Regions from separate parts of the Homo sapiens genome. Here regions 1, 2 and 4 are each linked to region 3. Evidence: promoter capture Hi-C in human tissues and cell types (Jung and others, 2019). All regions are on one chromosome and are shown on one strand. Each heading gives the region's core, a stretch centred on a gene start or on the middle of the fragment in contact. The rest is flanking DNA. Distances are from core to core; before and after follow the strand shown. Region 1 overlaps GARRE1 (granule associated Rac and RHOG effector 1). Region 2 has its middle 83 kb from the start of LSM14A. Region 3 holds the start of CEBPG (CCAAT enhancer binding protein gamma). Region 4 overlaps GARRE1 (granule associated Rac and RHOG effector 1).

The links. Contacts are between HindIII fragments. The study calls those that stand out against the background at their distance.
Region 1: a contact is called between a fragment that was not itself captured here and the fragment with the promoter of CEBPG in region 3, in 1 of the 25 tissues and cell types used here (hippocampus).
Region 2: a contact is called between a fragment that was not itself captured here and the fragment with the promoter of CEBPG in region 3, in 2 of the 25 tissues and cell types used here (H1 embryonic stem cells and mesenchymal stem cells).
Region 4: a contact is called between a fragment that was not itself captured here and the fragment with the promoter of CEBPG in region 3, in 1 of the 25 tissues and cell types used here (lymphoblastoid cells).

Annotation. Positions count from the first base shown.
Region 1 is chr19:34,306,132-34,313,501 of GRCh38, forward strand. All of the region lies in intron 2 of GARRE1 (granule associated Rac and RHOG effector 1), which reads left to right. Among named protein-coding and RNA genes, the nearest start is that of GARRE1, 55 kb to the left of the region's middle. RefSeq lists an enhancer at 4,359-4,858. The HindIII fragment of the contact is 3,275 bases long and covers 1-3,120 here.
Region 2 is chr19:34,085,557-34,092,862 of GRCh38, forward strand. It overlaps the pseudogene RPS4XP21. Among named protein-coding and RNA genes, the nearest start is that of LSM14A, 83 kb to the right of the region's middle. The HindIII fragment of the contact is 4,884 bases long and covers 304-5,187 here.
Region 3 is chr19:33,369,420-33,376,835 of GRCh38, forward strand. CEBPG (CCAAT enhancer binding protein gamma) reads left to right here and starts at 4,290. Exons shown (of 2, transcript NM_001806.4): 1 at 4,290-4,476. RefSeq lists a silencer at 4,077-4,886. The HindIII fragment of the contact is 10,998 bases long and covers 1-7,416 here.
Region 4 is chr19:34,318,508-34,326,401 of GRCh38, forward strand. GARRE1 (granule associated Rac and RHOG effector 1) reads left to right here. Exons shown (of 14, transcript NM_014686.5): 3 at 1,400-1,609. Among named protein-coding and RNA genes, the nearest start is that of GPI, 43 kb to the right of the region's middle. RefSeq lists an enhancer at 1,277-1,571. The HindIII fragment of the contact is 5,735 bases long and covers 2,768-7,894 here.

The sequences.
Region 1 (7,370 bases), core at 233-2,732, 930 kb after region 3:
ATTTGGATTTTTTCCTTTTGGTTTTTTAAGGATTTTTATAAGCAAGGCCCTGAGAGTCACTTTGACATTCATCCCTGGGGAAAGAGGTCTGTGGCCTAACATTGCCAGGCAAGGCCTCTACTCAGGAGCTCAGTCCAGGACTGTGGGTGAGAAAAGCTCTGGATTCGAGAGTATTCAAATATTTGACCATTTAAGAGTTAGGACAAAGGATGATCCTGTCCCCTTGCCATGTGGCCAGTGCATGTGTGCAGTGTTCCCAGGTGCTTCTGACTTACAGCCAAGTTTGGGCTGTGGTTATTGATTGACAGATACTGATGCCTTTGTCCAGGAATGGTGGTTGCTGACTGTGTGCTCTGCCACCCTGCCTTGGAACCAGCAGGGCATATGTGAGTCCTGTCCAGTCTATACTCACCAGTGACTTTGCCCCTTAGCCCGAGTGGTTCACCCTCACAGTCTCTCTGTTAGAGAAGTGAGTTGTGACTATGGGGTTTCACTAGCTGACTAGTGCCTGTGACACTGGTACATCAGCCTAGGAAGTCAGTTACTGGGCACAGAGTCAGAAGACCTGGGTTTGGAAGGTGACATCTATCACTTAAATAAAATTACTTTTTCAGTGGAAGTGTACATAAATAAAAGAATCAAAGTGACTTGTGATTTGTGCATTCATTCCACAGATATTTATTGTATGCCTTGTTTCTGCCTGATACTACTCCAGCATGTCGATTGCAGTAGTGAACATGACAGAAATCTCTCCCTTCATGTAGCTAGAAGGGAGTTTCGATCTTAGAGAAGGTAGTTAGAAAAGGTACCACTGAGAAGGTGACATTCGAGTAAAGGCCTGAAAGGGATGAGAGAGCAAGCCTGTTGGCCCAGAAAAGAGGATTCCAGGCGGAGGGAGCGCCGAGCACAGAGTCCCAGAGGCAGGAGCCAGCCTGGAGTGTTGGAAGAGCAGGAAAGAACCTGCTGTGGCTAAAACAGAGTGAATGGAAGGGAGAGAAGCAGGGGTGAGGTCAGAAGGGTAAAGAGGGGCCACTCTGGTGTCTGTTCTGAGTAGCCAGGTAGGAGGCAAGGTGAGGTACACCTCTGAAGGGCAGGGGATGGGAGGGCAGCAGGCTGGGCCCTGCCATTCTTTTGTAGTGAGCAGCGATGCCACTTCTCCCCTTGCCTTCTTCATACTGGGTAGCTCCAGGGCTCTGGTTTTACGTTGGGTCCTCAGTGTTGAGAGGTGTTGGTCCTCTATGTAGGCAGTCCAGGAACCCAGGGCAGCCATGGGGCTCCCAGGAGTTGTATGTCTCTAAGGAGACTGTATTTTATAAATTCCAGCATTTTTATTGACTTTTCAAGTATTTACCATCTTGTGAATAAGCAGCCAGACTTATATGTATATATACGTATTATATATATATATGCCAGACATATATATAAAATATGTATTTTTTATATATGTATGTATATATATACACATACGCACACACATACATATATATACTTATATATACATATATACTTATATATACATACTTATATATACATATATACTTATATATACATATATACTTATATATACATATATACTTATATATATACTATATATACATATATACTTATATATACTATATATACATATATAGTATATATATACTATAAAATATATATACTATAAAAAAAAAATATATATATATATTTTTTTTTTTTTTTAGAGATTAGGCCTTGCCATATTGCCCAGGCTAGCCTCGAACTCTTGGGCTCAAGCAGTCCTCCAGCCTCAGCTTCCCGCGTATCTGAGACTGCGTAGCTGAGACTACAAGTATGTATCACTGGGCCTGGCTCTCAAATCTTTACACAGTTGCATCTTGGCTTTCAGTTTGACACAACAACAAATTTCTTTTGTATACTATGTGATTACCTGTGAATATGTTTGAAATAATTTATCTGTGAGTGCTGACTGACTCTTAATTAAGGACCTTAATTCAGGTATATTAACATTTATTTTGGATAGATATATACCAGAAATATTGTAGAGTAACAATAATGGAAAATATTAGAAGCTGGTTTCAAAAATACGATTTGCATTAACCTTAATGGAATTGAATGTGCATCCTGTTCCTTTTTTTTTTTTTTTTTTTTTTGCCCTAAAGGTAAAAGTAAGTGTTACTTGTTTTGACTGGTAGATCTTCTGTAACAGATTATGGAGTAAATATTTCCTAATGGTATGTGCCAGATGAAAGTTCATATTGCTGCTGCTAATCAGAAACTGAAGTTCACCTCATAAAAAGCTTGTATGAATCCAGTTTTGAAACTTGCTAATTTCAGGTCAGTGTTTTTGGCTTACTTTTTTGCTGAGGTGAATCTGCTATTACCTAAATTGTCTTCAGACTTTAGCCTGTAGAGGAAGCTGTACTTAATTAAGCAGCTGGAATTTGGGTGATTCTGTAAATTTGCATTGTGGTCAACAAACATGATTTACCATCTGTCTAGCCCATTCTACGTGGGTGGAAGCCACCAAGGCCATTGGGCATCTGTCACTGTGGAGGGACTGGACCCTTTGACTTTGATTTGTCAAGACAAGCATGTGCAACCAACTCATTATTCTGATAAATGCTAATTAAAAGGAGAAAAGTAAGGAAATAAGCAAATTTCCTGCTTTTCCAGTAGAAACTGTTTTTCATGGTAACCAAATAGCCCTAATGGATGAGAGAAAAATCTCCACTTTGCAGACTGTGATCAATTCGGTGACTCAACCAGTGGCCAACAGTGGAGGATGAAACCATTTGTTGGAAGGTTGCTGAGGAACCGCATTTGGGAGAATCAGGCCTTCCGCACCCAAATCTCATTGATCAGCCTTAGTGTCATGGAAATGGAGACAGGTCATCACGTCTCCTGATGTGCTGCAGCAAGAACCGCACAACACATCTAATATTAATAATATTCTACTTCTCCCTCTTTAAAAAAAAAAACAAACCCTGAAATAATCTAATCAAGCTTCTAAAATGAATCCAGTCTACAGGAAATGTGGGGTGTAGTGACGCAAGTTATGCAATACCACGAGAAGGCAACCAGACAAATTCACAATGTGGCATATCCTGTAATAAGTTGACCTGATTTGTTCAACAAGTCAGTAGCATTAAAAGAAATTACACAGAATGTACTGTTCTAGATTAAAAGAGTTAAGCAATATAACAACCAAATAAAATTACCTTTTTGGGGTTGAGGTTCAAACCAAATGTAAAACATAATTTTTAAAAGATAAGTTGGGAAGCTTGAACACATACTGAGTCTTGGTTGATTGGGATTTACTTCAAAAAAAGAAAAAAGATGGGGAAGGATAGATGGTAAAAGCATGGCAAAATGTTAATGGAATTGAAACTTTTAATTTTTTTGTAGAGACAGGATCTTGCTGTGTTGCCCAGGCTGTGAGCCCAGGTCTCAAACTCCTGGGCTCAAGTGATCCTCCCACCTCAGCCTCCCACAACACGGGGATTATAGGCTTGAACCACTGTGCCTGGCCATAGGATTGAAGTGTTTTGATGGGTACATGGGGGCTTGTTATGTTCTGCTTTTGTGTACGTTTGGACCTTTTCCAAGTTTGCAAAAAGTGAGAGAGAAATTCAGGAATGTATTAAAGACGTAATATATCAGAGTACCCAATAAATAACTCCATTTCATGGAGGGCTTTTCGCATGTGAAGTGGTCTTCTAACAGAAAGGGGAGCATTATTGAGTAGTTAGAAAACCCAAGGTGTAGGGATGAAGAGAAAAGCAGGTGTTCTTCAAAAAAAATGAAGAGAGTAAAAGTGAATCAAAGGAGAAAATGGGAACAGAGAAAAGACCGTCTCTGAAAGTGGGAGGCCAGCAGCAGGTGGGAGTCAAGGAAAGAATGAAATGTTGCTAATTTTGGGGACTAGTGATTGAATGGCAATGTTGCTGTCTTTTTAGAGAGTAGGATTTAAAATTTTGAGTTGCTGAAAAGGCTTGCGTGATGTGCTAGAAAAATTAGGTTTGGTGGGCAGATTAGAAGGAAACAAATAGGAGAGTTCATGGAATATAATTTCAGATAGAACTGGCTTTCCTGAATTAATTTTTTGGTTCTAGTCAGCTTAGGAGATCTCACAGGATTGGATAATGGCCTGTTCTGGCAGCCTCCCTCCTCTTTACAAACCAGGAACCTGAGCACCCATAAAACAGCATTTGCCTGAAGTCCTTCTGAGGCCAGCCCATGTATGGGTTATGTGTCCTATGTGTCTGCTGCCTCCCCACTGCCTCGGGCCAGTGCAGTCTAGTGCAGAGGGGCTTGTTGGCAGAGGCCATCCCCCTGTGAGAACAGGCTGTCTTGCCCCTCTGCTAATGGTGAAATGTCCAGAGCCAGGAAATCAGAAATAGCGTGATGTAGAGGCACCCCTGAGCACCCTTGCTCGCACTAGGGCCCCTCCTGAGTAGGCCCAGCCACCTGGCCTGCCTTCCTCTTCTCCCAGCTGAGCCACCCACCCTCCTCGATAAATACACATGAGCTAGCTGCAAGCATTGCACAGATGACAAGGACAATAAAAGCACTCCAGGACTGGTAGGCCAGATAAATAAATAGACTGGCACTAGGTGTGATGAGTGCTGTGATGCAGATGGAAAATAGCCTGAAGTCTGTTGATTCGGCAAAACTTTCAACTGCTCCTCTCCCCGCACCCAGCTCACTGTGCCAGGGCCAGCCCTCATACCAGAACCTCCTACCTAACTGAGAGCGCATCTGAGCAGGGGCAGGGCAGAGAGCCCAGTAGGCCCTGGGGAGAGTGAGGAGATACTGGTAGTTGCCTCTGAATATCCAATCTCTTTTTTCTTTTTTCCTTTCTTCTTTCTTTCTTTACCTTCTTTCTGCCCCCGCCCCCCCGCAAGACAGGGTTTCACTTTGTTGCCCAGGGTGGAGTGCAGTGGAACAATCACAGTTCACTGCAGCCTGAACTCCTGGGCTCAAGCAATCCTCCTGTCTCAGCTTCCCAACTATCTGGGTCTACAGGTGCATGCCACCACACCCAGCTAAACTGTATTTTTTTGTAGAGTTGGGGTTCCATTACATTGCCCAAGCTGCCATTTTTTCTTAGTAACAAACTCTCATTTTGTTTTCCATACTGTACCTGGAATAAGGACTACACCTCTTAGTTCCTTAAAGCTGGGAGTGGTCACTTGAATAAGATCTGGTTCATGACGGTGTAACTAGAAGTACTGCATGAGATTAGTGGGATATCTCCTTAAGGGGAAATTGGTGCTCCCTCCTCCTCCAATTTTCTACCGTCTCCAGTGCGTGCAGAATGACTGATGGCCATTTAACCATTTATAATCGTGAAGTCACCTAGAAATAGGAGCCTCGCATGAGTGTGCCGAGCAGAAAGCTAGGAAGTGGGCTCCTTGTGATGCCCTGGCGTCTCCATTCCAACCCTGGTCCATCTGCTCTGGATTTGTTTTACCTTAGAAAAAAATAAACATAATTTTTTTTTCTTTTCCCCCCTCTGAGATGTAGTTTCGCTCTTGTTGTCCAGGCTGGAGTACAGTGGTGCGATCTCGGCTCACTGCAACCTCTGCCTCCTGGGTTTAGGCGACTCTCCTGCCTCAGCCTCCCAAGTAGGTGGGATTACAGGCGTGTGCCACCACACCCAGCTAATTTTTGCATTTTTAGTAGAGATGGGGTTTCACCATGTTGGTCAGGCTGGTCTCAAACTCCTGACCTCAGGTGATCCCCCTGCCCTGGCCTCCCAAAGTGCTGGGATTACAGGCATGAGCCACCACACCCGGCAACATAGTTCTTATTTAAGCCACTGTATTGGTTTTGGGTTTGATTTTTTTTTAATTAAAAATTATTATTATTATTTTTATTTTTACTGTAGAGATGGAGTCTCACTGTGTTGCCCAGGCTGGTCTCAAACTCCTGGGCTTAAGCGATCCTCCTGTCTGGGCCTCCTAAAGTGCTGGGATTACAGGTGTGAGCCACCATGCCTGGCCTGTTTCTGTTTTTGTTTTTGTTTTGTTATATGTAGATAAACCTGATTCTAATTAAGTGGAAGCAGGAAGACTAGTTAAGGGGCTATTAGAGCAGTCTAAATGAGGGATGATAGTAGTTTGGAATAGAAGGGTAGCAGACGTGACTAGAAGTAGTTATGTGTATTTTTACTGTGGTAAAATATATGTAACATAAATTTTGCCATTTTAACCATTGTTAAGTGTTCAGTAGTATTAAGTACACTTACATTGTTGTGCAAGCATCACCATCATCCATCTCTAGAACTTTCTTATCTTCCCAAACTGAAACTCTGTACCTGCTCAACAATAACTCCTGGTTGCCCTCTCCTCCCAGCTCCTGGCAACGAACATTCTTTCTACCTCTATAAATTTGACTACTCTAGGAACCTCGTATAAATGGAATCATAGAATATTTGTCCTTTTGTGACAAGTGTGTTTCACTTAGCATAATGTCTTTAAGGCTCATTCATGTTGTAGCTCGCATCAGAATTTCCTTCTTTTTAAAGGCTGTGGCCGGGCGCGGTGGCTCATGCCTGTAATCCCAGCACTTTGGGAGGCTGAGGTGGGTGGATCACCTGAGGTCACGAGTTTGAGACCAGCCTGGCCAACATGGTGAAACCCCATCTGTAGTAAAAATACAAAAATTAGCTGGGCATGATGGTGAATGCCTGTAGTCCCAGTTACTCAGGAGGCTGAGGCAGGAGAATCGCTTGAACCTGGGAGGCTGAGGTTGCAGTGAGCCAAGATCGTGCCATTGCACTCCAGCCTGAGCAACAAAAGTGAAACTCCGTCTCAGAAAAATAAAAATAAAAATAATAAATAAATAAAGGCTGATAAATATTTTAGCAGTTGTATTTTGCATGGTTTATGACATGCGCACCTGGGTCACTCACTCCCTGGTAGTGCTATTTACTGAGATGGGGAGTAGTGGGGAAGAGTAAGTTCAGATAATAGGTCTGTGATGCCTATTAGATATCCCATGGGTGATTTCTACAGGATAGTTGCATACACAAATCTGGAGTTGAGGGTTGAGGTCCAGAACTTGGAGACCCTCAGTCAGTAGACAGATGTAAAGCTAGAGAACTGAAGGAGGTCATCAAGGAAGAGCGTAGCTGGAGAATGAGTAAACCCTGGGGCACTCCCACATTTACAGTCAGAAGATGAATAGGAAGCCGCCCAGGAGTCTGAAACTGGAACAGCTGGAGAGCTAGGAAGGAAATGAAGCAAGGGTGATGCTGCTGAGGGGAGGTGAGGCCTCCTCTCCACCCCATTCCAAGATTTGCCATGGTTACACCACTTGGAACACTGTGCAGATACAGCCGGCTGGGAGTGTCCCTGTCAGATGGGGATATTGGGATCCCTGTCTCA
Region 2 (7,306 bases), core at 1,496-3,995, 710 kb after region 3:
CCAATTTTCATGATTTCAGCAAGCTCTGGGGCTTAGGAGCTATCCCTATCAGATATCAGATATCTGGCTCTGGGCAATTAGGGCAGGTGCATAGTGGCCTAAAGCATGAGAGGTGAGGCAGTTTGGGGTGTAGACTTTGTTTGTTTGTTTATGTGTGACAGGATCTCCCTCTATCACCGAGGCTGGAACGCAGTGACACAATCTTGGCTCCCTGTAACCTCAACCTTCCAGAGTCAGGTGGTCCTCCCACCTCAGCCTCCCAAGTAGTTGGGACTACAGGCATGCACCATCACACCCAGCTAATTTCCTTGTATTTTTTGTAGAGACAGGGTTTCGCTATGTTGCCCGGGCTGGTGTTGACCTCCTAGGCTCAAGCAATCTGCCTGCCTCAGTCTCCCAAAGTGCCAGGATTACAGGCGTGAGCCACGGTGCCCAGCCAAGAAGTATGACTTAACCAGCTGCCTAAGAAGGGGATGTGACCAGCCTCTAGCCAAGGTCTCAAAACTGTGTCAAGGCAGCATTTTTTTAAAAACATATTTCACCCGCGAAGCCAAAATTGTTTACTGTTTGCTGACCCATGGTCCATAAACGAAGTCTAGATATCTGGTTCCAGTTGGAAGTCACAACCCACATCTTAAATGTGCTTTCCACAAATGTTTATGGTGATAACTCACCACAAATGTTTATGGAGATAACTCAGGGAATATAAAATAGGTTAAATTTTCCCACATTGAGAATGAATGAAACATGTCCTAGAAGTCACGGGGTCGGTTCTCAGCCCCAGTCTCAGTCCTGCAGGTCATGGCAAGCCCCACAACTCAGTGGCAGTTCCCAACAGGCCAGGGGTGAGCAGAGTCTATACTGTGGATGTCACCATGGCAATGGAGCCCAGTGGTCCGAAGTCAGACAAGCCCATGTTCAAATGTTAGTTCTACCACTTATCAACAGCATGATCTTGAGCAAGTTACCTATATTGGTTATCTGCTGATGCATAACACACTATGCCAAAACCTAGTAGCTTAAATAATTGTCATTTAACATCTCCTGCAATGTCTAAGGATCAGGAATCCTGGGGCAGCTTAGCTGGGTGGCTTGGGCTCAGAGTCTCTCAGAAGGTTGTAGTCAAGGTGCCAGCCAGGGCTACCACCAACCATCTGAAGGCTCAAATGGGGTTAAAGAATCCACTTCCAAGTTCATGCATGGGTAGTTAGCAGGTGATAGGGTTTGGCTGTGTCCCCACCCAAATCTCATCTTGAATTGTAGCTCCCATAATCCCCACGTGTTGTGGGAGGGACACAGTGGGAGGTAATTGAATCATAGAGGTGGGTCTTTCCCTTGCTGTTCTCATGGTGGTGAATAAGTCACATGAGATCTGATGGTTTTATAAACAGGAGTTCCCCTGCACAAGCTCTCTCTTGCCTGCCGCCATGTAAGACATGCCTTGCTTCCCCTTTGCCCTCTGCCATGATTGTGAGGCCTCCCCAGCCATGTGAAACTGTGAGTCAATTAAACTTCTTTCCTTCATAAATTACCCAGTCTTGCGTATGTCTTTATTAGCAGCATGAGAACAGACTAATACAGCAGGTCTCAATGCCTCACTGGCTGTTAGGCAGAGGTCTCTGTTTCTTATCCCATGGGTCACTCCATGGGCTGCTTGAGTATGCTCTCAATATGGCAGCTGACATTCCATAGGACAAGTGATCTGAGGGAGAGAGAGAGAGAGCACGCAAGACAAGACAGTGCTCAAGAAGGAAGCCAGTCTTTTATGCCTAATCTCATAAGAAGGACAGCCTCACTTCTGCTGTATGTAATTGGTCCCACAGGTTAACCCTGGTACAAGATGGGAGGGGACTACATGAGTATGTGAATACCAGGAGGTGGGGATCATTGTGGGGGGCTGGCTGTGCATTACCTTTATTTAAGCTTCAGGTCAGGCTGGGTGCAGTGGCTCATGTCTGTAATCCCAGCACTTTGGGAGGTCAAGGCAGGCAGATTGCTTAAGCCCAGGAGTTTGGACCAGCCTGGCAACATAGTGAGACCCTGCCCAGAAAAAGAAAAAAAGCTTTAGGTCTACCATTTATGAAGTTAGAATGATAATGATAATAGTACCTGGTTTATAAGGTTTAAATGAGAAAGTGCTGGCCGGGCGTGGTGGCTCACACCTGTAATCCCAGCACTTTGGGAGGCCAAGGCAGGCAGATCATGAGGTCAGGAGATCAAGACCATCCTGGTTAACACGGTGAAACCCCGTCTCTACTAAAAATACAAAAAATTAGCCGGGCGTGGTGGCGGGTGCCTGTAGTCCCAGCTACTCGGGAGGCTGAGGCAGGAGAATGGCATGAACCCGAGAGGTGGAGCTTGCAGTGAGCTGAGATCGCGCCACTGCACTCCAGCCTGGGTGACAGAGCAAGACTCTGTCACAAAAAATAAATAAATAAATAAATAAATAAATAAATAAATAAATAAGAAAGTGCAGTCAAGCCCACTCACAGGGCTTGGCACTCAGTGAAGCATTCTGTAAATGCTTGCAATTATTATCTACCTCACTGTGGCCACTCCTGCCACTACCACTTCCATAATAATAACAAAAGGGTAAGGGGAACCCTTCCGCATCACAGGGAAGTTTCCTGTCCTTGGCCACTTCTGGGTGAGCTCTCTTTCCGCTTTACAAGGGCAACCGTAACTGTCTGAAAAAATAAACCTCCAACAAATTCAAACTAGTCTCTTTTTCTCTCACCTTGACCTAAAATCTTTGAAACAGACACCCACATAACTCCTCTAGAAAGGCAAACCCAAAAATTGTCAGAGTAAAAAATTCAATGACTTAAGATAAAGGGGATTATTTCCTTAGAAATAAACTCATTTAAGAAATTGTAGAAACTTCAGACATATCAATTTCAATATTCAAGGACATCACTCATTCAACAAATATTTACTGGGCATGTGTTATACATCAGGCATGGCTCTAGGAGCTGTATAAACAACCTGGAATTTAACAGATGAAATCTCTGCCCTTAGAAATTTGCAGGCTAGTGGGAAATAAACAAATAGGTTTTAAAAAAATAAAAAATAGAGTATGTTAGCTGGTATTGAGTTAGAAGCTGGTAATGAGTTAGATAAAAAATAAATAAAGGCCAGGCAGGCTGCTCACTCCTGTAATCCCAGCACTTTGAGAGGCCAAGGCAGGTAGATTGCTTGAGCTCAGGAGCTGGAGACCAGCCTGGGCAATATGGCGAAATCCTGTCTCTACAAATAAATAAATAAACTAATTAAGTAATTAATTAAAGATGGAAAGTGGATGGGATGATGTTAAAATTATCAATAGATGATCAAAAAAAGTTTCACTGTCATTTGCACAAAATCCAAAAGGAGGTGACAAGATGAGCCATGAGGATATGTCCTGAAAGGGTCAAGTGCTTGGCCTTCAGAGAAGAGCAAGTAGGCCAATGTGTCTGGAGTCCAATAAGGCTAGGGTAGAAATGGTGGCAGAGAAAGTTAGAGAAGTAGATTGGGGGATGCAGAATCAAGCGCAGTCTTGTAGGCTGTTGTAAGGACTTGGACTGGGTCCTTACAACAAAGAGGCACCATTGGCAAAAGAGGCACCATTGGGTTTTGAGCAGAAATGTGACATAATGTGATTTACGTTCTAAAAGCATTACTCTTAGACAACTAAGGGGAGTGAGGACAGAGGCAGAGAGAGCCATCAGGAGGCCACTATGAAAATCCAAGTGAGGAATCATGGCAGCTTGAAAAGGATGGCAAGACAGAAGTTGTGAACCTTGGTCAGGTTCTGGATTTGAGTGGGAGAGTCCAGAGTCTGTTAATGAAGTCTATGTGAGCTGTGTGGTAAAGAGAAGAGTCGCGAATAGCTTTGAATTTTTTGTTTGCTTGTTTGTTTTTTGAGACAGTCTTGCTCTTTCTTCTAGGCTGTAGTGCAATGGCATAATCACGGTTCACTGCAGCCTCGACCTCCCTGGCTCAAGCAGTCCTCCCACCTTAACCTCCCAGGTAGCTGAGACTACAGGCATGTGCCACCACGCCTGGCTAATTTTTATTTTTTGTATTTTTTGTGGAGACAGAGCTTCACTGTGCTGCCCAGGCTGATATCGAACTCCTGGGCTCAAGCGATCCTCTGACCTTGGCCTCCCAAAGTGCTGGAGTTGCAGATGTGAGCTGCCACACCCGGCTGCTTTGAAGTTTTTGACCTGAGCAGCTTAAAGAATGCAGTTGCCATGTACAGAGATATAAAGAGGTATGGAAAGAGCAATGTGGTTGCCTCAGGAGTACAGTGTGGGACATACTGAGTTTGAGATAAGATAACCGTGGGACATCCAAGTGGGATGTAAGGAGACAAGTGATAGACAAGTCTGGAGCTCAGGGGAGAAGTCTGAACAGGGGATATAAAGTTGAAGTTTCCATGATTTGAGAAGATATTTCCATCATTAGAAATGATAGTTAAAGTCTTGAGGCTAGGAGTAAGTGCAGACAGAGAAAAGACCTAAGATCTAAGCCCTGGGGCACTCCAGCATTTAGAATTGGGAGAAATATGGCCGGTCACAGTGGCTCACACCTGTAATCCCAACACTTTGGGAGGTCAGGGTGGGCAGAGCACTTGAGGTCAGGAGTTCGAGACCAGCCTGGCCAACATGGTGAAACCCAGCCTCTGCTAAAAAATACAAAAAAGTTAGCTGAGCATGGTGACACGTGCCTGTAATCCCAGCTACTTGGGAGGTTGAGGCAGGAGGATCACTTGAACCCGGGAGGCGGAGGTCACAGTGAGCCCATATCATGCCACTGCCCTCCAGCCTGGGCAACAGAGCGAGACTCCATCTCAAAAAAATAAGTAAGTAAAATATAGTTGGGGAGAATAAAGAGAAAACAGCAAAGGACTCTGAGCAGTGACCAGTAAAGTCGAAGGAAACCCAAGAGAGTGGCATGTGTAAAGCCAAGTGGAGAAATGTTCTCCAGAAGGGAGTGACGAGCTGTGTCCGATGCTGTTGGGGTGTCAAGTACCATGAGCAAGTGAACTGAACAGGTGCAGGGAGGTCACTGGTGACCTTGATATGAGAGGTATTGGAGGAGTGGTGGAGGTGACGCCCCACTGGAATGGGAGGAGAACTGGAGACAGTGAAGATGGATAACTCAAGGATTTGGGCCATAAACAAAGCAGAGAAATGGATGGTAATTGGAGAACATGGTGCAATGAAAGGAATTCACTCATGATCCACATAAGCTAATGGGAATATTCCAGTAGAGAAGGAAATATCCGTTGATGGTGCAGGAAAGAAAAGAGGGAATTGCTTCAGTGGGTCCTTGAGAAGGCAAGAGGGGAAAGGATCTGGCGCCTGGTCAGGGGCGGGCCTCAGACAAGAGCCAGAAAGTCCATCTACAGTAACAGGAGCAGCGTGCCTGGGCACAAAGGCAGGAACATGGATAGATGTGTCCCACCATGCTCCGGCCCTCCCTGCTGCACTGCTGATCAGGCAGGTTGTAATTACCACCCTGTGTGTCTGCCTGTGTCTCCAAGACCTATGAGAGAGAAAGACCATGTAGGTCAACATCGCACTTTCAGTGCCCAGGACAAAGCCTGGTGCAGAGCAAGCACTCAACAAGTATGGTGAATGGCTCCTTGCAAAACGAGACAATATCGATCTTACCTGGCAGATATTAAAAAATCATAAAGGTAGAAATTGTAATGCAATGTGGCAATGGCACAAGACAAAACAGACAGATCAATGGAACAGAATTTAAAAACTAAAAAACGCCGGGTGCAGTGGCTCACGCCTGTAATCCCAGCACTTTGGGAGGCCGAGGTGGGTGGATCAGTTGAGGTCAGGAGTTCGAGACCAGCCTGGCCAACATGGTGAAACCCCGTCTCTACTAAAAATACAAAAATTAGCTGGGCATGGTGGCACATGCCTGTAATCCCAGCTACACGGGAAGCTGAGGCAGGAGAATCACTTGGACCCAGAAGGTGGAGGTTGCAGTGAGCTGAGATCACACCACTGCACTCCAGCCTGAGAGACAGCGTGAGACTGTCTCAAAAAAAATAAAAAATAAAAATCTGGCCCGGCACAGTGGGTCATGCCTGTAATCCCAACACTTTGGGAAGCTGAGGCAGGAGGATTGCTTGAGCCCAGAAGGTGGAGGCTGCAGTGAGCCGTGATTATGCCACTGCATTCCACCGTGGGCGACAGAGTGAGACCCCGCCAATAAGCAGTAATGGCATAAAATGCTTAACAAATGCTGTCAATACAACCTGATACAATAATACAAATATTCAGGAAAAATAATGTTTGCTATGTCATATGACACACAAAAATGAATCACCAGCCGGGCATGGTGGCTCACGCCTGTAATCCCACCAATTTGGGAGGCCGAGGATCACTTAAGGGCAAGAGTTCAAGACCAGCCTGGTCAACATGGTGAAACCCCCACCCCCAACCCATCTGTACTAAAAATACAAAAATTAGCTGGATGTGGTGGTGGGATTACAGGCATGAGCCACCACGCCCAACCAGAAAGTGGTTTCTTGAGATGGAATCTGCTCCTGGTGAAGATGCTATGAACATTGTTGAAATGACGGCAAAGGATTTCAAATATTCCATAAACATAGTTGATAAAAAGGTGGTAGTGTTTGAGAGGATCAACTCTAACTTTGAAAGAAGCACTATATGCAATGATATCACACAGCACTGCATGCTACAGAGAAATATTTTGTGAAGAAGCCCATCGGTGTGGCAAATTTTATTGTCTTATTTTAAGAAATTGTCACCCCAGCCTTGCAACAACTGCCCTGATCAGTCAGCAACCATCAATATCAAGGCACGACCCTCCACCAGCAAAAAGATTATGACTCGCAGAAGGCTCAGAGAGATGGTTAGCATTTTCTAGCAATAAAGTATTTTTACTTATTTTTTTAATCATGCCATATTATTTTAAATTACATACGAAGATCTAACATGTCACCCACAGACCATTTCATCCACTGCTCTGTTTGGCTGCAGTCTCTTGTCTCTCCCTTCAGCAATGGTGAAGCGGATACCCTTTCCTCGGGGAAGAGAAATACATGGTTTGTTGCCCTTGTCAATAACAAAAATGATGGAAAAGCTGTTGCTGTTGGCATCTTTCACGTGAATCGTGTCAAAAGATCCAGGGTGCCTCTCTCTATTGGTGATCACACCAATTCTTCCCCAGTTAGCACCTCCAGTCACCAAACACAGGTTACCAGTGTCGAACTTCAAAGCAGTGATGTTGCCAGTCTCCAAATCAATCTGAATGGTGTCGTTCACTTTAATGAGGGAAT
Region 3 (7,416 bases), core at 3,040-5,539:
CTTTGGGAGACCGAGGTGGGAGAATCATAAGCCCAGGAGTTTGAGACTGGCCGGGACAACATAGTGAGACTCCATCTCTAAAAATATTTCATCTCTCAAAAAATTTTAAAAATAAACCAGGTGTGGTGATGCACGTCTGTAGTCCTAACTACTTGGGAGGCTGAGGTGGGAGGACTGCATGAGCCCAGGAGTTCAAGGCTGCAGTGAGCTATGCTCATGCCATTGCACTCCAGCTTTAGCCTCCCAAAGTGGTGGGATTACAGGAGTGAGCCACTCTAGCCAGCCATGTAGCTAATACTTTTGAGGTACCAAGCAGGCACTGTTTTAGGGGTCTAGCACACTAATTCCTTTAATCCTCAGAGCGACACTGTTGTCTTCTCCATTTACAGATGACAGAGAGGTTAAGTAATTTGGCCAAGGCTGCACATCTAGCAAGCGGTGAAGCTGTGGACACTAGTGTTCATATCTCTTAGGTAACTAATGTAGTTAATCATAGTGGCTGTCAGGTAACTACAATATTCAATGAATACAACAGCCTACTTCCCAAGTCCTTTGGAGGGTTTTTTTATTTTAAATTTTTTTAAATTAAATAGAGATGAGGGGTCTCACTATGTTGCCCAAGCTGGTCTTGAACTCCTGGCTTCAAGTGATCCTCTCACCTCGGCCTCCCAAAGTGCTATAGAGGCTACTCAGTCTTTGGATTTGTAGAATATATATTGATTACTGTAAGGCAGAGAGATATGCAGGAAATTTTTCTTTTACTGTGATGGCTTGGATCCCTGTGACTTGTAAAAAAAGCTACATAGTAGACCTCCAAGGCTTCACCAGGCTCTCGTTTCCTTATGGAGAACAAATCTTTCGGAAGCTTCTATCTCTTAGGGTAAAAATCTGAATGTTTCTTGGGCCCACATGGCCCTGCCTATCTTGTTGGTCTCCACTTTACTTTCAGCCACTTTAGCCTTAAATTTCTCCCATCACAGGGCCCCGGACAAGAATTCCCTGTGACTGCTGCACCCACGTCCTCTGTATTGCCTAGCCAAATCCTGTCAATTTTTCAGGCTTCCCCGGACCCATCAGACTAGGTCTGGTTCGCTTCTGATTTCTCACAGCGTCTTGTACTGCTTTCTTGTAGTATCTATGAAAATGGTAATTGAAAAATTGTGGACCAGGGGAGGTAGCTCATGCCTGTAATCCTAGCACTTTAAAAGGCCGAGGTGGGTGCATCACTTGACCTCAGCTGTTCGAAACCAGCCTGGGCAACATGGTGAAACCCTATTGCTACAAAAAATACAAAAATTAGCCAAGCATGGTGGCGCATGCCTTGTAGTCCCAGTTGCTTGGGAGGCTGAGGTGGGAGGATCACCTGAGCCCAGGAGGTCCAGGCTGCAGTGAGCCATGCTTGCCCCACTGCACTCCAGCATAGGTGACAGAAAGAAAAATTGTGTAATTACCAAACGCCTGTCTGCCTGGCTGTAAGTGTAAGTTCCATGTGGGCAGTGACTGTGTGTTTGTCTTGCTCATTGCTGAATCTCCAACACTTAGCCTACGGCTTAGTACATAGTTGGCACCAAATGCATACTTGTAAACTGAGTAGAAGAAAAACTACCAGCTACCAGCTGAAAAGAAAATAAATACCCGAGTGTCCTGGGCACTGACTAGACTTGCTGGGTGTGTAAGAAGGCCTGCCCAGACACAGATACAAAGAATGCTGGAACAGCTTGGCAGGGCGGTTTGCAAACCAAAGGATAACTGAATATACCTATGCAAGTTCTTTTTTTTCCCCTTACACATTTTTCTTTTTTCTTTTCTTTCCTTTTTTATTTTTATTTTTTTATTTTTGAGATGGAGTCTTGCTGTCACCCAGGCTGGAGTGCAGTGGCGTGATCTCAGCTCACTGCCAACATTTGCCTCCCGAGTTCAAGCAATTCTTCTGCCTCAGGCTCCCGAGTGGCTGGGATTACAGGCACCCGCCACCACGCCTGGCTAATTTTTATATTTTTAGTAGAGACAGGGTTCCACCATGTTGGCCAGGGTGGTCTCAAACTCCTGACCTCAGGTGATCCGCCTGCCTCGGCCTCCCAAAGTGCTGGGATTACAGGCGTGAGCCACTGTGTCTGGCCCCCTTACACATTTTTTAAGTGATTAGGAAATATTCAGGGTAAAATTATGATTTTGTGAGCAATAAATCACAATCCTATTTTAATAGTACTAAAATCTTGATCAAAGCAAGTTCAGGCAGGACTTGGTTACTCACACCCTTAATCCCAGCAATCTGGGAGGCCGAGACAGAAAGATCACTTGAGCCCAGGAGTTTGAGACCAGAGTGGACAATATGGTGAGACCTTGTCTCTACAAAACATTTTTAAAAAATTAGCTAGGTGTGGTGGTGCATGCCTGTAATCCCACCTACTTGGGAGGCTGAGGTGGGAGGATGGCTTGAGCCCAGGAAGTCGAGGCTGCAGTGAGCTGTGATCAAGCTGTGGCAGTGCCATTGCACTCCAGCTGGGGCAACACAGCAAGATCGTCTCAAAAAAAAAGAAGAAAAGAAATTTAAGCTGAGAATACTGAGAGCCAACGTGAAGAAACACACTTGTTTCAATGACACTTATTCTCCTAAGTGTGCATCTGTGAGCATTATTACCTGTTTTTTTTTTTTTGGAGACAGGGATCTCATTCTGTGGCTCAGGCTGGAGTGCAGTGGCTCAATCTCAGCTCACTGCAACCTCCGCCTCTCAGGCTCAAGCCATCCTCCCATCTCAGACTCCAGAGTAGCTGGGACCACAGGCACAGCGCCACCACACCCGGCTAATCTTCTGTATTTTTGGTAGAGATGGGGTTTTTCCATGTTGCCCAGGCTGGTCTCTAATTCCCGACCTGAAGTGATCAGCCTGCCTCGGCCTCGCAGAGTGCTGGGATTACAGACCTGAGCCACCGCGCCCAGCCCATTGTTCACCGTTGTGACCCCTTTTAATTTTTATTTATTGCTTTATCATCTTACTGATTCCTCGAAACAATCTTACGGGGCGAGCCGGTTCCATGGGCGCTGAAGAAACATTTCCTCTTTCAAAGCCTCAATTGTTTGAACGATACGCGTTGCTAAAGAGGAAGCAATTAAACCTATCAGGCGAGTTCTGCCCTCCGCCCAGCGAGCTGCTGCTTCCTGGTGTTAAAACGCTTTCGGGGCCAGGCGCGGTGGCTCACGCCTGTAATCCCAGCACTTTGGGAGGCCGAGGCGGGCGGATCACGAGGTCAGAAGATCGAGACCATCCCGGCTAAAACGGTGAAACCCCGTCTCTACTAAAAAAATACAAAAAATTAGCCGGGCGTAGTGGCGGGCGCCTGTAGTCCCAGCTACTTGGGAGGCTGAGGCAGGAGAATGGCGTGAACCCGGGAGGCGGAGCTTGCAGTGAGCCGAGATTGCGCCACTGCACTCCAGCCTGGGCGACAGAGCGAGACTCCGTCTCAAAAAAAAAAAAAAAAAAAACGCTTTCGGGTTCTCCTGGCGAGTTTTAAGTCACACTGGATCGCTGCTTATTTTCAGAGATCACCTCGCACCCATGCACCTGGAAGGCACCCAAAGAGAATCATTTTAAGAAATTCACTTCATCTCACCCTAACAACAAAGCACAGCCTGCAGCACATGGATTTCACCCATGTGACATCAATGCTAATCCTATGTGTGAAACATCTGGGTTCATTCGATTTTTTAAAAATTAGTAACTGAGATGGGGTCTCGCTATGTTGTCCAGGCTGGTTCTCCAACGCCTGGGCTCAAGCCATTCTCCCGCCTCGGCCTCCCTCGGCGCTGAGATTATAGGCGGGAGCCACCGCGTCAGCCTCCACTCTTTTTGCGGCGACAAAGCCCGCCCGCCTGCGGGGCGTTCCGTTCGCAGAAACTCTGTGAGGGACGCCGCGGGGGCTTCCAAGGGACGCGGCGAAACCAAAACAGTCGCCGGTGGTTCACAAAACCACCTCAGAAAATGCTTCCAAAGGCACGTCTGGCCTCCACAAGGTGACGGCTTTTCAGCCTCCGACTCGAACTTGAGTCGTCCACAGCACTAGGCCGCCGCCAGCCCGGGCGAGCTGCCTAGGGACCGCGGACGCCGCAGCAAGCAGCTCCCTGCTCCCGCCACACCCGCCGAGCCAGCCGCGCGGAACCCACTCCCCCACCGTGGGCCCGCCTCCCGCCGCCAGCCTGCCCACGATTGGTCGACTGGGCTGCCCGTCGCGAGAGAAGGCGGTGCCTCCGGCAGGCCGGCGCTCCCATTGGCCGGGATGGCGGCGGCGGCGCGCGCGGCCCCGGCGAGCAGGGGAAGCCGGTGGCCGCGGCTGCGGAACGGGCGGAGGCTGCCGGTTTCGTAACCGTCGCTCCTCCTCGCTGACTCGCGGGCTGTGAGGCCTGGGTCGGCTCGGGCCGCACCGCGCGGGGCCGCTCGGAGTGGAGGCCGCCTGGGGGCAGGCGGGCTAGAGGAGCAGGTAAGGAGGCTGCGGCGGGCGCCCTGAGAACGGGGAGGAGGAGGCCGCGGCGACGCCGGCCGCTCGACTGGGTGCGGGCCCGGCTCGGGGAAACCCAGCCCCGGCCCCAGACGGCCCGCTGGCCCGGGAAGGCCACGCGAGGCTGGAGGCGCGGGCGGCGGCGCCGCGCGGCGTCTGATGCAACCTGCCGGCAACACCCGGCGGGGACGCTGAGCTCATTCCTGGCCGCGGCCCAGCGCTGCGGCGCCGCCCGTCGACCCCCGCGCTGCCCGGGGCGCCCCTCGCGGCGGGCCGGGAGCGCGCGAACGGCCGGGGAATGCCCCCTGCGGAGCCCGGCCCCCTCTCGGTGAAACGGGCGCTGTGACCCGCCAGGCTCGCATTGGCCCCTGGGGATGAAGGGTGTTCCCAGAATAGCAGAAGGTGGACCGAGTCGAGCTTTAGAATCCTGATCTTCTAGAAGGGCTCAGCTTGCGGTGATCGAAAATCTGTTCAGAAGTTCAAAGACTGATCAATAAAATAGGGAAAGCAACTGGTTTTTAAATGCATGACTTTGCAGAGATAATATTTTGCTTCTTTGTGGAGCTGTTGGAATGTCCTGCACTTTACTGTTGAACGTAGTTTAGAAGAACACGCAACACCTACGGGTCGAATAGAGAAGAAATGAAGCACTTCGCAGGCATAGTTGGAGGGAGCGGAGCAGGGCCGACAGCCAGCGGAGGTGACCAGATGCGAAGGATGGAAATGCATGTGTCGCGGGGGGAGGAGAGTGTTTTCCAGGGCAGCTGGTGTGTTGCTTCTCTTCCGCAGGTTTACGTGTTGGGTTTTCCTCTTGTTTGAAGTTTATACTGTAATCTGGCATCCTGAAATGTATAAGATTTAGAAAGGTCTCAATGTTGATGGGTGACACCAAAATTGGTAGTTGTGTCAGAATTGACTGCTTATATGAATAGGTTGTCACTTAAGGCAGACTTCTCCCAAAGAAATGTGACTCCCAGAGAAAATTTTAAAAGAAAATCCTATAAGGGCTTGCTTTACGAAGACATTCTACACCTAGAAGCTCTTGATATTTAAGATGTGGTCATCTGTTAGCCCTTGAGTAGTATTTGGGATAAGCTGTTCATAAGGTCGATTCTGCTTCTGGAAAAAGTTGCTGTAAACAAGGCTAAATAATTACAGGGTACAAGGGAGCTGAAGCATATTTCAGCTTCTTGATTCCTGCTTTTGGTGGGCACACTTGGCTGGTTCAGTTATTTTTAATACCTGCTTTTAAAAAAAGTAGATGGAAACAAAACTTCATTGAGAATATCCTTTAAATTCTCAAGATCACATCATGTCTGTCTGCAAGGCTGTCTGATCTTGGAGAGATGGTTTCATCCCTGGGAAATTAAACACTATGTGCTGAGCCCCTGGTAAAGACAAATAGGACCTCGTGGGGCTGAATTTGGTCTCGTGGTCTAAGATTGCCTCACTTGGTCACAGTAATGGTAAATACAGGTAGCCACGATTCCAGCTGTATTGTGCGTTCTTGGGAGGGTTGGTTCCATGGGTTGTTATATTGATAGGTACACTGGCCTCCTGCGTTTGTGGCTTTCTAGCTCTATCAGTAAAAAAAAGACAAAAATGAGCATGACCTCCTAATGGATGTTCATTTACAAATAGTCTATTTGTTTTGTGTGTTGTAAATCACTTCAAAAGGATTGGGTTAGAAAGATGATGTTGATGTTCTTCTAATGCTCCAGTGACCCACTTCTGTACTCCCAGAAAGGGGACGTCCCCTTCCTCATGGACCCTGCGCTAGATGCTTGTGAAGATCTGCAGGGAGACACGATGCGGCTGGAGTTGACAGACCTAGGGAACAAATTTTCCCAGATGCCCAAAGAAAAGAGAAAGCACAGACCATTTAGGATACAGATAGTGGTTTAGTACTGTCAAGATGTGGTGTGAGGGAGGAGAGAGGGTCAGGACCTTGGATTTGATCCTGTAGACTGGAGCCAGAGATGAATTTTCACCAGGAGAATGACTCACTCAGGTTTGAGTGTTCAATTGCTCTGGAGACAGAGGTTGGAGGAAGCAGGCTAGACCAGAGACCAGTGTCCCTGAGAGATGATAGTGGCCTAAGGTGATTTCGATGGGATTGGGATGGAGAGGAAGAGTAGATGGGAAGTTTTTTTTTTGTTTGTTTTAGGTGGAATTGTCAAATCCCAGAGACTAAACAGAGTTAGGACCAAGGAGAAACATCTGTGACTATTTTGAAATGTTGACCTTCATTGAGGAAATCGAGTGAAAAATTTATTTTGGTGGGCAAGGGGAGGAATATTGGGTTCTAGGTCTGTGGAGAAAAGGGACAAAAGGGTTAGGAAAATTCTTGATAGGTTTATTTTCCCAGGTGAAACTTGAGAAAAATTTGATTTTGTTTTACTCATTCTAACATTCTGCGCTTTCAGTGTGACTGACGTGAATGAACATTACTTGAATTAAGTTTGAATTAAAACAAAGCCTATTACCCACTTAGTCCACCATTCTCAATATTCATTGGGAATCAGCAGCAGAGGCCCTCAGACTTCAGTGTATTCAGAGTTACTTGGAGGTCTCCTTATGAAAAGATTACTCAGCTCTGTTCTTAGAACTCCTGATTCTAAGTCTGGGGCAGCCTGAGAAGTTACATTTCTAAAGAGTTCCTGGATGATGATGATGCTGGTCCAGGGACCACACTTTGAGAACCACTGCTCTTCAGCTTTCCTGCTGTTTCCTCCTTGAGTGATTCACATGGAAGGAAGCCAGGCGCCGCCCTGCATCCTGTAGCCTGAACTTTGGAATAGTGTTTGTCCACAGAGGAGCCAGACTTGAATTTAGGACTGAGTGTCCAGCTTTCAAATAAACACTTTTTGCCTGTTGTAGGTGTTCAGTAAATGTGTGTGGAGGAACAAAGCGTAAATGAGA
Region 4 (7,894 bases), core at 4,385-6,884, 950 kb after region 3:
GCAAACTCAATAAAGTAAGTTGTTGTGAATAAGTAATCTGCATAAGCCAAAGAAATATAAAATATCTTCCACAAAAAATTATTAGGGAGCAGGATAAAAGAGCTGCAAAAGGTTTTTGTTGGTATTATTGCCAAATCTGATGTGGGCAAAACAACTATGAGAAATTAGGAAAAAATGTCAATAATCTGGAAGGTTTGTGGTCAAGTTGCTTTGTAAGTGGCCAGTTTTTGCCCTGTGTTAAAGAGGAAATAAGGCCGGGCATGGGAGCTCATGCCTGTAATCCCAGCCCTTTGGGAGGCCGAGGCAGGTGGATCACCTGAGGTCAGGAATTCAAGACCAGCCTGGCCAACATGGTGAAACCCCGTCTCCACTAAAAATACAAAAATTAGCCGGGTGTGATAGTGCACCGAGGTCAGAGAATCGCTTAAACCCAGGATGTGGAGGTTGCAGTGAGCCGAGATCACGCCACTGCACTCCAGCCTGGGTGACAGAGCGAGACTCCATTTCAAAAAAAAAAGATAAATAAGAAATGATAGAGAACACATTGTAACTGTGGTTTATGCAAGAAAGTAACAGGGAGGAGCAGCAAAGGAGCTGTCAGAACAGCCTTAGCCCATACCAGAAGGCTGCCAGAGAAATGCACAATCATATCTGAAAATGTTTGTGGCACATAGTATATATTTAGTATACATCTTATTATAATTACATATTCATGTGTATAGTATTTTTTAAGTTAATTTCCTACTTGGACTATTAGCAACCAATCACTGATATATATCAGGTTAATGGGTTTCTACTGTACTCATGAGTGGAGCTGTCCATTATATTTTCTTGACTCCTGGAAGACTGGTCTGTCAGCTTTGTTTCCTAAGACTGGAATGATGACATACAACTATGTTAATAACTATGTTAACACTCCTACTAAAATAACCGGTATATTTGGATTCCATTTTCAACGGAATGTCTTATGGTCAAACTGGCCTTCTTTCAGATTTTTAGTTGCATGGTTTTTCCTTTACCTTCTGAATACTGTATGGACGTAATTGCTGTTGTGGATGGCTGTGGTTCAGCAGGAGCTCAAAGACACCAGAAGTGGTGTGAGTCCAGATATAGGGGGTGGAGACAGGATTGGGGGTTACTTGGTGGGAAATGGGAAGAATTATTTCAACCTTGGGCCTTGTTATTTGATGGAAATGTTTTGACTTCCAGGCATCAGTCACCGAGGTCCAAACACAAAAACAAAGGCAGATCCTTCTGAAGCATGGTGGCCTTTTAACTTTGTATGATTTTGGATTTCCAGTTAACTATTGCTTCTATTCAAGTTGGTCATTGAAAATTTACTGCGCGAATCCAACAGCAACCCACAACCTAAACATCCCTGGCTGTCTTGTTTTCACAGGTGTTGGGGCGATGTTTCCTGACTGTGGTGCAAGTCCATTTCCAGTTTTTGACTCATGCGTTACAGAAGGTCCAGCCGGTGGCTCACTCTTGCTTTGCTGAGGTCATCGTGCCAGAAAAAAAGAACAGCGGCAGTGGCGGCGGCTTATCTGGCATGGGCCACACACCTGAAGTAGAGGAAGCTGTGCGGTCCTGGCGGGGGGCTGCTGAGGTAACCCTGGCTTTGGGGAGATTGGTGCCTGTGTTCAAATAGGAGAGGCTCCAGAGGGCCTTTGCCTGTTGATTCTCAAAACAGCCATTTCATTTAGAAATGTACATTTTAAACTGTTATCATTGGCTTGTTCATTCATTTAACAGTGAACATCTTTGTGAATGCCCACTTTGTGCCAGGCATGTGCCAGGCACTAGGATGACAACCTCTACTCACAGCCTCCTGGGAGAATAGGCTTACAAAAACAGGGCTAAGGGGCCAGGATGGAGATATGCGGGAGCCAGAGGAAGGGAGGGCCCTGTCTCTGAACGGTAGTGCTGCAGGAAAGCTTCTAAGATGGGGGACCAGTGAGAAGAGGCTGGCACCCAAGTCAGGAAAGACGGGGTGGAGCTGTCTGGGGAGGGTAAGTGGCCAGCCAGGCAGCGAGGCAGGCGAGCAGGAGTGTTTGGCAGACGGATGGGATGACAGGCTCCAAAGATACAACCACAGCAGGGCGAGAGCTCAGTGGACACAGGGAATTTTGTGTTTTTTGTTAGTCAAATCATTCCCTATAGAAGTGCTTGGAATCTTTGTAACTTTTTAAATTCTTTAAGTTTTTCTTTTTCTTTTTCTTTTTTTTTTTTGAGACAGGGTCTTGCTCTGTTGCCCAGGCTGAAGTGCAGTGCTGCGATCAAGTCTCACTACAGCCTGTACCTCCGGGCTCAAGAGATACTCCCACCTCAGCCTCTTCCAAGTAGCTGGGACTACAGGCTCATGCCACCATGTCTAGCTTATTATTATTATTATTACTTTTTTTTTTTTTTTTTTGGTAGAGATGAAGTCTCACTATGTTGTCCAGGTTGGTCTTGAGCTACTGGGCTCAAGCGATCCACCCACCTCTGCCTCCCAAAGTGCTGGGATTACAGGCATTAGCCACTGCACCCAGACAAGATTCTTTTTTTTTTTTTTTTTTTTTTTTGAGACGGAGTCTCGCTCTGTCCCCCAAGCTGGAGTGCAGTGGCGTGATCTCAGCTCACTGCAAGCTCTGCCTCCCAGGTTCACGCCATTCTCCTGCCTCGGCCTCCCGAGTAGCTGGGACTACAGGCGCCCGCCACCAAGCCCGGCTAATTTTTTTTTTTTTTTTTTTTTTTTTTGTATTTTTAGTAGAGACAGGGTTTCATCGTGTTAGCCAGGGTGGTCTCAATCTCTTGACCTCGTGATCTGCCTGCCTTGGCCTCCCAAAGTGCTGGGATTACAGATTTGGACAAGATTCTTAATTGGTCTAACTCTGCCTAGATCCTCATTTGTCAGTGCTTTACATGTGATTTCAGCAGTTCTCCAGTATGCTTTATGTGACTTCATGAAGTTTTTTTTTTTGAGACGGGGTCTCACTCTGTCGCCCAGGCTGGAGTGCAGTGGCACGATCTTGGCTCACTGCAACCTCCGCCTGCCGGGTTCAAACAATTCTCTGCCTCAGCCTCCCAAGTAGCTGGGATTACAGGCGCCCGCCACCATGCCCGGCTAATTTTTGTATTTTAGCCCCAGCTAATTTTTGTATTTTTAGTAGAGGCAGGGTTTCACCGTCTTGGCCAGGCTGGTCTTGAACTCCTGACCTTGTGATCCACCCACCTTGGCCTCTGAAAGTGCTGGGATTACAGGCGTGAGCCACTGCACTGGGCCAACATGAAGTCTTTTATCCCTTGGAAGATCAGCTATTTCCCAGCACAGCAGATATGTTTATAAAATCTAGCCATCATGCAAGAGCTAGACTGAGTGGTTGGCTCCCTAGTGGATAGAGAGCGCAGTGGTGTGGGATGGTATGGCATGGTCATCAGGGATAATGTGAAGGAGAATTGTGGGATTCTCCTCTCGTGGTGACAACCTCATGACTAAATGGTGGGCTGCAGGGAGCCGCTCCGGTGGGGGGATTCTAGCCTAGCGCAGGGTTGCTTTCCTAGTCACTCTGGTGTGGCATTCTCTATTCCTTTTCCACAGCCAGAAGAATTTAAGCTTAAATAAAAGGCAATCAAAAACAGCTCTGAAAAAGTCTGTTTTAAGGAGACTTTGCCTATAATCAGTGACATTTCTTTTGGGAGACAGAGTTTCGCTCTTGTTGCCCAGGATGGAGTATAATGGCGTGATCTTGGCTTACTGCAACCTCTGCCTCCCAGATTCAAGCCATTCTCCTGCCTCAGCCTCCCGAGTAGCTGGGATTACAGGCGCGCACCACGACGCCTGGCTAATTTTTGTATTTTTAGTAGAGATAAGGTTTCACCATGTTGGCCTGACTGGTCTTGAACTCCTGACCTCAGGTGATCCACCTGCCTTGTCCTTCCAAAATGCTGGGATTACAGGTGTGAGCCACCATGCCTGGCCATTAGTGACATTTCTTGTAGGCATTTTAATACTTATTTCTTTCCAGTATGAGAAATAAAAAATAAATCTTAGAAGTTGAGACTTTAGGACTTACTGCTCCATTTTACAGAGTAAAAGATAATTTTCTTTTTTTTGAGACGGAGTCTTGCTCCTTCGCCCAGGCTGGAGTGCAGTGGCGCAATCTCGGCTCACTGTACCCTCTGCCTCCCGGGTTCAAGCAATTCTCCTGCCTCAGCCTCCTCAGTAGCTGGGATTATAGGCACCCGCCACCACGCCCAGCTAATTTTTGTATTTTTAGTAGAGATGGGGTTTCGCCATGTTGGCCAGGATGGTCTCAAACTCCTGACCTCAGGTGATCTACCTGACTCGGCCTCCCAAAGTGCTGGGATTACAGGTGTGAGTCACCCACCTGGGCCAAAAGATAATTTTTTTAAACTATCCCAGCAGGCAAACACAGATTAAAAGATAATTTATGGTTAGCAATATAGTGATTCATTAAATAATGTCTAGTTCAAATCATTCCATAATTAACTTGGCAAAGTATTTCTTTTCTTTTTTTTTTTTTTTTTTTTTTTTTTTGAGGTGGAGTCTCGCTGTTGCCCAGGCTGGAGTGCAGTGGTGCGATGTTGGCTCACTGCAGGCTCCGCCCCCCGGGGTTCACGCCATTCTCCTGCCTCAGCCTCCCGCGTAGCTGGGACTACAGGTGCCTGCCATCTCACCTGGCTAATTTTTTGTATTTTTAGTAGAGACAGGGTTTCACTGTGTTAGCCAGGATGGTCTCGATCTCCTGACCCCGTGGTCTGCCCGCCTCAGCCTCCCAAAGTGCTGGGATTACAGGCGTGAGCCACGGCGCCCGGCCTAGTATTTCATTTTATGTTTTGGAAATTTTCTTTAATAAAATTTTCAAAACATGATTTTTCACATGTTAATATTGTCCAGTCTCTAGTTTTATTATTTCAATTTCATGCCATTTGCTGCATTGTTGTCATTTCTTTTTAATTTTCACTGTTTTCTTGCATGTTTTGGTCTGTCTTTCATGCTAAAGACTTCCTAGGGCTTTCTTTCTGTTCATCAGAAAGGCCCTGGAATGCTAATTGGAGGCTGTGTGTGGGGGTGGGACCTGTTAGCTTTATTGTAGATGGCTAAGCCCTGAGGTCCAGACCTGCACCTTGTTGCCTTGTCATGTGACTTTACAACCCTCGGTGTCCTCCTGGCTGCTGGGCCCCAGCCTCCTGACTGTTCAGCTCACACACGTGAACCTAACACCTGCCTTGGTCCCCTGCTCCATCTTCTAGACAACTCATGCTGAGGACCAGCCCACAGGAGGAGGCCTCCGAGTTCTCTCTTGACGTCTTCACCTTGACCTTTTTTGCCACCATTTTAGTCTGTCCAGGCCTTTCTGCCCTTTCTACATTCCCTTTGCTTTCAGCCAGTGATGCCACCCCCTACTACACTGAGCAAATAGAATCTCCCTGATGGCAGCCCTTCTTCCTCATGTGGCCAAGCCACCACCACTCCTGCCATCCCTCTTCACAACCATCTTTTCTTCCTTCCCCTGCCTCATGACAGCAGAGGAGGTGCCCTCTCCTCCTGTCCAGGCTTGCCCCGTGCTGGCCTTGCCCCCATCCTCGAGGGCCCAGCTTCTGTGGTGCGACCTAGTGTTTTCTCTCCCTCATCCTCAGCCTGTTCCCACCAGTACACAAAGATGCTTCCCACAGAAAAGTCCACTCTGCCCTGCCCTGTTTCTCTGCTCTTTTCTCAGCCAACTTCTTGGAGTAGTTGTCTACCTTTTTTTCACCTTTCATTCATTCTAAAAAATTACTATTTTATTTTTACTGCACCTTGTGGCTCCTTACTGCTCCTGGCACACCCCGTGGACAGTTTACTCAGAGTAGTCTAAAAAGTAATTATTATTGAAGTATTTCAGGCACATAGAACATTTCACACCCATCAGTGTATCTTCCTTTTAGCTGCCTGCCATATTTGCTCATGCCTGTTACATATTTTTAACAGAAAAATATCACCAGTGCACTTTTTTTTTTTTTTTTTTGAGACTGGGTCTTGCTCTGTTGCCCAGGCTGGAGTGCGGTAGTGATCACAGCTTACTGCAATCTTGACCTCCTCGGCTCAAGCAATCCTCCTGAGTAGCTCAGACTATAGGCATGCACCACCATGCTTGGCTAATTATTTATTTTATTTTACTTTTTATTTATTTTTTTAAAGACAGGGTCTTGCTATGTTCCCAGGCCGGTCCCAAGCTCCTAGGCTCCTGCACCCGGTCTGTAAATGCACTTGAATCCCTTTTGTACCTCTCCACTTTCTTATTCATCCCTTTGTCTCTAGAGATAACCTCTGTTGAATTTGAAGCGTGTGATCCTTGTGCATATTTTAATATTTTTTCCGTATATGAATGTATCTATACATAAGGTATTATTTTACACAGTCTGAAACTTTATATACATAATGTCATTCAGCTTGCTGAAATCTGGCTTCCACTCCTATACAAGAACATGCCTTCTCTTATCAAGGTCATTGGTGCCTTCTTCCATGTTTTCAAATCCAGGGAACCCTTTCAACAACTTTCAGCAGCTCACAGCAGTGTGGAGAATATTCCTCCTTGGAAATACTCTCAGCTTGTGACATCCAAGAACCAACCTTTCTTTCCTCTTGGGTCATCCTTTCTTCATCTAGTTTACTGGCTTCTCCTTCCTCAACACAATTTCTGAATGTGAGTTTCTCCAGGCTCAGTTCTAGCTGCCCTTCTCCCTAGGGGTTCTCCATCCAGTCTTGGGACTGAAAAACCACCTGTGTCCTTGGAGGGGGCTCAAATGTGTGTGATCAGTGAGCAGCCCACTTCCTGTGGGCTTCAGGCCCCTGAGCTCAGCTGCTACCGGGGGTCTCACAGGTGGCTCAGGCGTAGCCTCTCTCCACTCACCTGTTCCTCCCTAGACCCTCTCTATGCTAGTGAGTGGTGCCATCCCACACTGGCTTCACTTGAGAAACCTGAGATTTATCCTTCAGCATTTCCGTCATGTCTACACCCAGTCCAATCCTTAAGAAAACCCGGCAGTTCCCACCTCCAAAATCTTATCCCAGATCTGTCCCCTTCTTCCACGTCCTTCATCGCTACCCTTGTTCAGGGAATCGTTACTTCTCCCCTCCCTGTCTTGCTCGCCTTCATTTTAAAATTGGATGATGTCGCTTCTCATTTCCTTAGGGTAGCATGTGGACCCCTCAGCACGACCTGCCTAGACCTGCCTAGTCTGGCTCCTGCCTTGATGGCCAGCCTTATCAGTGGCCACCCTGCCCTCGCTCACTGGGCTCTAGTTCCTTGGATGTGTCTTTCTTTGTTACCTTGGATCCTCGGCCTGTTTCACGGACCCGTCTGTAGGTCTTGACACCCCCCACCCCACCCCACACACATGCAATTCCATTCACGACCTTCTCCTCTAATTCTCACCCTAAGTGCTGCTTTCTGGGTGTCTAGGACATTCCCTGGTATAGTCCTCTGTTTGTTTCCCGCAGTGTTTTTTCTCCATTTATAATTCTGTGTTTTCTTTGTTCACCTTTTTGGCCCTGAGGCTCTCAGCTCCAGGAAGGTAAGGAGCAGCTTTGTGCTTCAGCACGTACCTAACATACCACCTTGTGAGCTAAATATTTGACTGAAAGATTCTTAGAAAGAGTCAAACAGTTTTAAACTGTGAGACTCTTAGGCTTCAGGCAATGGTGTTTACATACAGTTTGTGAAACCAAAGCTTTGGAACTTTACGGCATTATAGCTGCTAGTCATTTTCCTGTAGTCTGCAAGTTTTGTAAATATTACAACTCCTACACTGGCCCAGCAGAACAAAAGCTAACTGCTAAAAAATGTTACTTGGTTCACAGAATTGCAACAAAAATAGAAATCTAAAAACAGTTCATCTGGAATCC